2 separate regions of the Homo sapiens genome follow, and region 2 is linked to region 1. Evidence: promoter capture Hi-C in human tissues and cell types (Jung and others, 2019). All regions are on one chromosome and are shown on one strand. The core of a region is centred on a gene start or on the middle of the fragment in contact, and the rest is flanking DNA. Distances in the headings are between cores, read along the strand shown. Region 1 holds the start of L2HGDH (L-2-hydroxyglutarate dehydrogenase). Region 2 overlaps ATL1 (atlastin GTPase 1).

What was found. Contacts are between HindIII fragments. The study calls those that stand out against the background at their distance.
Region 2: a fragment that was not itself captured here is called in contact with the fragment with the promoter of L2HGDH in region 1 in 1 of the 25 tissues and cell types used here (dorsolateral prefrontal cortex).

What each region holds. Positions count from the first base shown.
Region 1 is chr14:50,310,331-50,313,724 of GRCh38, reverse strand. L2HGDH (L-2-hydroxyglutarate dehydrogenase) reads left to right here and starts at 1,496. Exons shown (of 10, transcript NM_024884.3): 1 at 1,496-1,714. The coding sequence starts at 1,575. It overlaps DMAC2L (distal membrane arm assembly component 2 like), which reads right to left and starts at 1,401. Exons shown (of 6, transcript NM_001382507.1): 1 at 1,336-1,401. RefSeq lists silencers at 1,017-1,246, 1,307-1,436. The HindIII fragment of the contact is 14,916 bases long and covers 1-3,394 here.
Region 2 is chr14:50,591,214-50,594,607 of GRCh38, reverse strand. It overlaps ATL1 (atlastin GTPase 1), which reads right to left. Exons shown (of 14, transcript NM_015915.5): 4 at 2,969-3,073; 5 at 712-762. Among named protein-coding and RNA genes, the nearest start is that of ATL1, 33 kb to the right of the region's middle. The HindIII fragment of the contact is 4,726 bases long and covers 1-3,394 here.

The DNA of each region.
Region 1 (3,394 bases), core at 247-2,746:
TCAATGGATTGTGTGAATGTCAATTACCTGGTTGTGATATGGTACTAGTTTTGCAAGATGCTACCACTGGGAAGACTGGGTAAAGGGTACACAGAATCTCTATTCTTACAATTGCATGGAAATCCACAATTACCTCACAAAGTTGAATAACCATCTCTTTTTTTCATCTGTGATGGAACAAGCAGGCAATATTCTACATTGTTTTAACAAATAAAGCAAACTATGTACCACTGTTCTGGTGGTAAAACCCTTTAACCATAATAAATGTCATCACGTAGCAAATGCTTCACTGTGCTAAACACCTGCTGACCTTATCTCGTGTAATCCGCTCAACGGCCCTAAGACTAGGGAGACACTGCTATCATTCCTAGTTCACTGAGGAGGGTCTGAGGCAAAGAGGTGAAGTGATTTCCTGGAGCTACCTGACCAAAGACTGGAACCAAGATTCTTAGAGGCACACGAAGTCCTTCTGGTAATAAATCTGTATAATTCTATTTGTTATGTTCAGCTGTCCTAACCCTAAAAATTAAAAACTGCCATCAAGCATACAGAATGAGTGTTAGCAACACCGGCACAGTGACAATTTTAAAGAGTTAGAAGGTCCTTTAGAGATTACACAGCCCATCGCCCTCATTTTTACATAAAGGGAATCAGGTGAAGTGACCTGCACAGGTGAGTCGCTGCTCAGAGACCGCACAGCACATTTAAAACTGTATCTCGGTTCAGTACTCAAGAAAAGGACACAGACTTATAAATGGTGGCAAAAACCGAGCTGTCTGGTTCTTCCGGTACCCAGTGCCGGGTCGAGTACAGAGCAGGCGCTCCATATTTACAAGACGAATCAATGACTGAATGAATAGCACCGCCAGGAGCCCCATAAAAGAAGTCCAGAAGACTGCGGGCTGTCAGTCTTCGCTGTGACAAAGAGCCTCCGTGAGGAGCGAGGATTAGGGCCGGACAGGGAGCGCCCTTCTAGTGGACGCTCGACTGGGCTGGGGCCGGGATGGAGACGGTGGGTGCCCAGGCCCTCCGTCTACCGCGGGCCGCGTGCGGGGCCGAGCGAGGACCCGGCTGGAGCTGGAGCGGGGGCGGGGCGGGGGCGGGGCCGAGGGCGAGCCGGAAGAAAGAAGCCGCAGGGCCCGCCCAAACAAGAATTTTCACCGTAATCCCGCCCAGAGTTTCTCCCACGGCCCCATGTCCGCATGGCGGTGAAGGTCGAAGACGCGCGACCCAAAGGGCCAGGTTTTCAGTCAGCCCAGCGTTGGCGACGGGCGAGGGCAGAACACAACCACCACCCTAGTCCCGCCCGGCTCGGGGCCTAGCTTCTCTACTCACAGCGTCGGAGGGAGGGAGGGAGGGAGCGAGCCAGCGTCCCCGCGTCTGCGGCACCCTGGCCGGCCCTTCGCCCTCCGACGCGCGCGCCTATTGGCCACCGCAGCCTCTCCCACATGGGGCGAAGGCGCGCCACTTCATTGGCCCCCGCGTGAGGGGCGGGGCTAAAGAGCGCGGGTCCTCGGCCGTGGAGGGTCAAGTGGCTTCTTCTGAGCGCTGAGGGAGGGGAGCGTGCGTAGGGGATGGTGCCAGCGCTGCGTTATTTGGTTGGTGCCTGCGGACGGGCCCGCGGGCTTTTCGCCGGTGGCTCCCCTGGGGCGTGCGGGTTCGCGTCTGGGAGGCCAAGACCGCTGTGTGGAGGTAGCCGCAGCGCCAGCACCAGGTGAGTGGCCGCTGGTCCTCCCCGCCGCCTGCGCTGCTGCCCCTCGCGGAGGCACCTGGTGGTGGACCTGTGCCCCTGTTCGTATTTCCCTGTCCCGGGGTGAGAGCAGGTTGGGGTCCTGTGGCACTCCAACCTCGGATCCCAGGAGCTACCAACCTGCAGGTTCATTCGTTGTATTTACGGGCCGGAGGAAAGGCAGTGTATAGAGTAGAGGTCGGGAGTAGCTCTGGCTTTGAACAACCCGTCCACTTTCTGTTGAACTCTGGGCTAGTTACTTAACCTCCTTAAAGGCTCAGTTGTGAATTGGACCTTAGTCTCTCCTGTAGGTGGTCATTTGAAGGATAAAAGGACCTAGCACACAGTATAAGCAATCAAATATGCTCTTTATAAGCTGGAGTCTTTGGCGTTGCTTGGAAGATCTGAATACAGTCTTAAATCAGTTCCTGGCACACCCCGCATAGTGTTGCCCCCGTCGGAGGCAGCTCTTATGCTAATGAAAGCCCGCAGAATTCAGTGTCCTGTGATTTATAGTTTGGACGTCACATTCGAAACCATTGTCTTTCTCTGTCCTCTGTAGAAGAAACAGTTTGTGTGAAGGCTGTAAGGCTTGGAGAGGTTTTGGCTATTTTGACGACTAGAAGGTGGGCCATATGAGTGTGACTGAAGTTTAGTGGAAGACATATGGTGTGGAATGACCCAGAAGGACTACATCACAGCAAGGTTTTTAGTTTATTTTAACCACACGTTGACTTTTATTCTAAGAGCCACGGGAAGCTATTTAAAAGGGTTTTAAGAAGAGGCTACGCTTTAGGAGGCCGAGGCGGGCGGATCGCCTGAGGTCAGAAGTTGGAGACCAGCCTAACCAACATGGTGAAACCCCGTCTCTACTAAAAATACAAAAAAATTAGCCTGGCGTGGTGGTGGGCGCCTGTAATCCCAACTACTCCGGAGCCTTAGGAGAATCGCTTGAACCTGGGAGGCGGAGATTGCAGTAAGCTGAGATCGCACCATTGCACTCCAGCCTGGGCGACAGAGCAAGACTCTGTCTCGCAAAAAAAAAAAAAAAAAAAAAAAGAAAAGAAAAGAAAAAAAGAAGAGGCTAATAATTAAATGTTGATGTTCTAAAAGTTGACTCTGGCTGCTGCGTGTTGGTGGATAGGGGGAGTAGAGTGGGATACCAGTAATAGCGATTGTGATTTGTTATGGGGCATGTGGACAGTTCTTTTGGGAAGCTTTTCTTAAGGAAAGAAAAGTAGGGCTAGTGAAAGTTTTGTTTATACTTAAAATGTTTTTTTAAAAAATTTTTGGAGTCAGGGTCTCACTGTGTTGCCAAGGCTGGAGTGCAGTGGCACAATCATAGCTCACTGCAGCCTCCACCCTCCTGGGCTCAAGCGATCCTCCCTCCTCAGCCCCCCTCCCCAATGCTTCCTGTCCTCCAGGAGCTGGGACCACAGGCAGCTAATTATTTTCCTATTTTTTTGTAGAGACGTTGCCCAGGGTGGTCTCGAACCCCTGGCCTCAAGTGAACCTCCCTCTTCAGCCACCCAAAGTGCTGAGATTACAGGTGTGAGCCACCGTGCCTGGCCTATACTTTTATTTTGAAGTAATTATAGATCCATTGGAAATTGCAAAAATAGTACAGGCCAAGCGTGGTGACTCAGGCCTGTAATCCCAGTGCTT
Region 2 (3,394 bases), core at 640-3,139, 280 kb before region 1:
CTGTCGCCAGTTGTAAACCGAAACTCTGCTTCTTTGTTTCTGCTCCTTTTGGAGCAGTGATTGCTCTGTAGTTTTCCTGAGGCTAGATTGAACCTTATCACCTCAGCTGTGTTTTTTTTAAATGTCTGTGACTTGCAATGTGGCTCTTTTTCTAAAAAATATATTAAATTTGATGTTAAATTAGGGAGAAAGGTAGTTACTTATTGATATGGTTAGGCTTTGTGTCCCCGCCCAAATCTCATCTTAAATTGTAATCCCCATAATCCCCACGTGTCAAGGGAGAGACCAGGTGAAGGTAATTGAATCATGGAGGCTGTTTCCCCCACGCTGTTCTCTGTTCTCGCTGTTCTCGCCATAGTGAGTGAGTTCTCACAGATCTGATGGTTTTATAAGGGGCTCCTCCCACTTCGCTTGGCATTTCTCCTTCCTGCTGCCTTGTGAAGAAGGTGCCTTCTTCCCCTTTGCCTTCGGCCATGACTGTAAATTTCCTGAGGCCTTTCCAGCCATGCTGAACTGTGAGTCAATTAAACCTCTTTCCTTTATAAATTAACCAGTCTCAGGCAGTAATTACCAGGCAGCTAATTGGGCCAATAGTTCCTGTTTAAACAGCAGAATCAGAATCTGATTATGTTTTGAAATCATTCCCCAAAGTTCTGCTATACATGTTTCAAAGACTACCAGATACACAAAAAAGAAAATAAATATTGTTACCTGGAGGTGCTGAAGATCATCCTCCTGGACATTTTGGGATAAGTTATATACCTTGATAAAGAAATAAAATTACAATGATAAGATAACTGGCATCATCCTAAGCACTTACTTCATCATTCCCTACTTTTAAAAATATCAGTTACCACAAAATGGACTCTCTTATGTACATGCTTACATGATATTTGTAAGACCTTGAGAGAGAAGTAAAATAAGCTTGAGAGACAATAAGGAATGAACAATGATTATAAAATGGTTCCAGAAATACAGTAGTCACCTGCTCTGGAGATGGAATATTAAAATTATTTTATGAACCTAATTTATGCAATTAGTCAAAAAAACTCATTCTTCCAAGCAAGACAAAATAATAACAATCTAAATCTCAGCAAGCCATATGGAAAATTTTGTTTTGAAAAATCATGTTGACTTCTTCACAATTAATCATTTTATTTATGTCTATACAGAGTTTCATCACATGGAAGTTAGGTTCTGAATATCATGCTCACATCCTTATATATATATGTGATAACAGCATTAAGATGACATTTTTTGAGGGAAATAAATATCATTAACTTCAAAGAAAAGTTAAGGAGGCTTATATATTTATGTACTGATATAAAAAGAATGCTCTGTATACTTATTTAAATAACAGATCATCATTTCTCACATAATTAAAAAAAGTCATTACTAAGGAATTAGCAGATTTTTCTCTGAAAATATTCAATGTATTCAGGTCAAATATAAATAATGAGTAATACTGATAAGGCAAAGTCAATCTGGTTTAAATAGGCTTGTATAAGTATGGCTTACACTGTGAATTACAATAAATTAGATTAAGTCAGTATTTTAAAGGCTTATACAATGTGTGTATTCAAAATATCATATTGTACATTATATATATACAGATATATGTACACACATATATATATAATTTACACACACACACACACACATATATATATATATATATTTTTTTTTTTTTTTTTGAGACGGGAGTCTCGCCCTGTCACCCAGGTTGGAGTGCAGTGGCGCAATCTCGGCTCACTGCAAGTGCTCTGCCTCCTGGGTTCACGCCATTCTCCTGCCTCAGCCTCCCGAGTAGCTGGGACTACAGGCGCCTGCCACCATGCCCGGCTAATTTTTTGTATTTTTAGTAGAGACGGGGTTTCACCGTGTTAGCCAGGATGGTCTCGATCTCCTGACCTCGTGATCCGCCCGCCTCGGCCTCCCAAAGTGCTGGGATTACAGGCGTGAGCCACCGTGCCTGGCCAATATATATAATTTTTATTTGTCAACTGAAAGAAAAGTTAATTTTTAAAAGTTGATTAAGTAGGTTATAACCATGACTTTTTTTTTTATGACTTTTACTTTAAAGTCCTTTATTTAATAAATTCAGTCTTCCTTCCTCCTTCTGTTTACCCTGTCTTGGTTGTCCTAATCATATATGACGCCCTTGTTGCTGGTTCACTAGCTCCATTCTCTATGCTTGCTTGTAATTTTAGTCTTGACTCACTCATCCTAACTGCTTTGCCTTTTCTGCCTTTTTAAGCTATCTTACCTTTTTTTATTGATCTGCCCTGTTCCTTGGCCACTCTCTTTTTGCTTTTGCCAGTGGATTGAAAATATCTAAAAATAGTCTTAAAATCTTTTATGCTATGGATTCTATGGTTCTAATAAAACTCTACAAGGATTTTCAGGACAATTTAGAAAGCCCACAATAACCTCAAAAATAAGACTTTTAAAAAAGTGAAAGAAAAAAGGAAAGGAAAGAAAGATAAATTTTATATATAAGCTATTTACTTTCCTAAATGTACATTAAGGTGTTTTTAAAAGCTATGAACACATGTAAATGTTTTTACATTTAGAAATGTTTCTACTGGCTATGTAGAACAAAATTTATATTTATAAACACTGTTTCATTAAACATAACTTACAATAGATGGTCTCAATGTATACGCATATAAGATTTATGTTACTGAGTTTATTGTAGGCTTTAAACAACAACAACAAAAATCCCAATAAGATAATATGACCTTTTCTAACCAAAGCAGTCAATTTGAAAGTTTGTCAGTAATTAAACTACAGTAACAAAAACAATTCCACTCTCACAGAAATCACGAGAACTCGTATGCTAATTGAGTCAAACAATATATATGATTCCCAATTTCTGTTGTTTATCTAATTATAACATGTATGTAGAAACACATATACTCATAATTTTTAGTTAAAGAAACATCATCAAAATGGGCTTATTTCATACCTGTATTGAGCTGATCATTGTGCTAAGGGCAAATACTGTGGCTGAATCTCTCAAAGTTGACTGACTATCAAAGGTTCCCTGAGTATCCATCAATAACACTGCAACCTACAGGCAAGAAGAGTACATTATTGATATTTTATAGAACATCTAGGTCATTAGGGTTACCATAATATTAATATAAGAACTAAAGCAAACCATTATTAATCAATACTATTTTAGATAATTTCTTACACATGCCATGAATGCCACAGAAAATAAAAATATTAACAGCTGATTACTATTATAAGTAATTTTTACTAGTAATCCAACGTAACAGAAACTTTATGTAGCAGTGAAACAAAATACAGATGTTACTTGCTGATCTGCTGTTCTATCATCGTTATAATTTCGCCTACTCTGATCACAAGAAAGGGAAACAAAGATCAT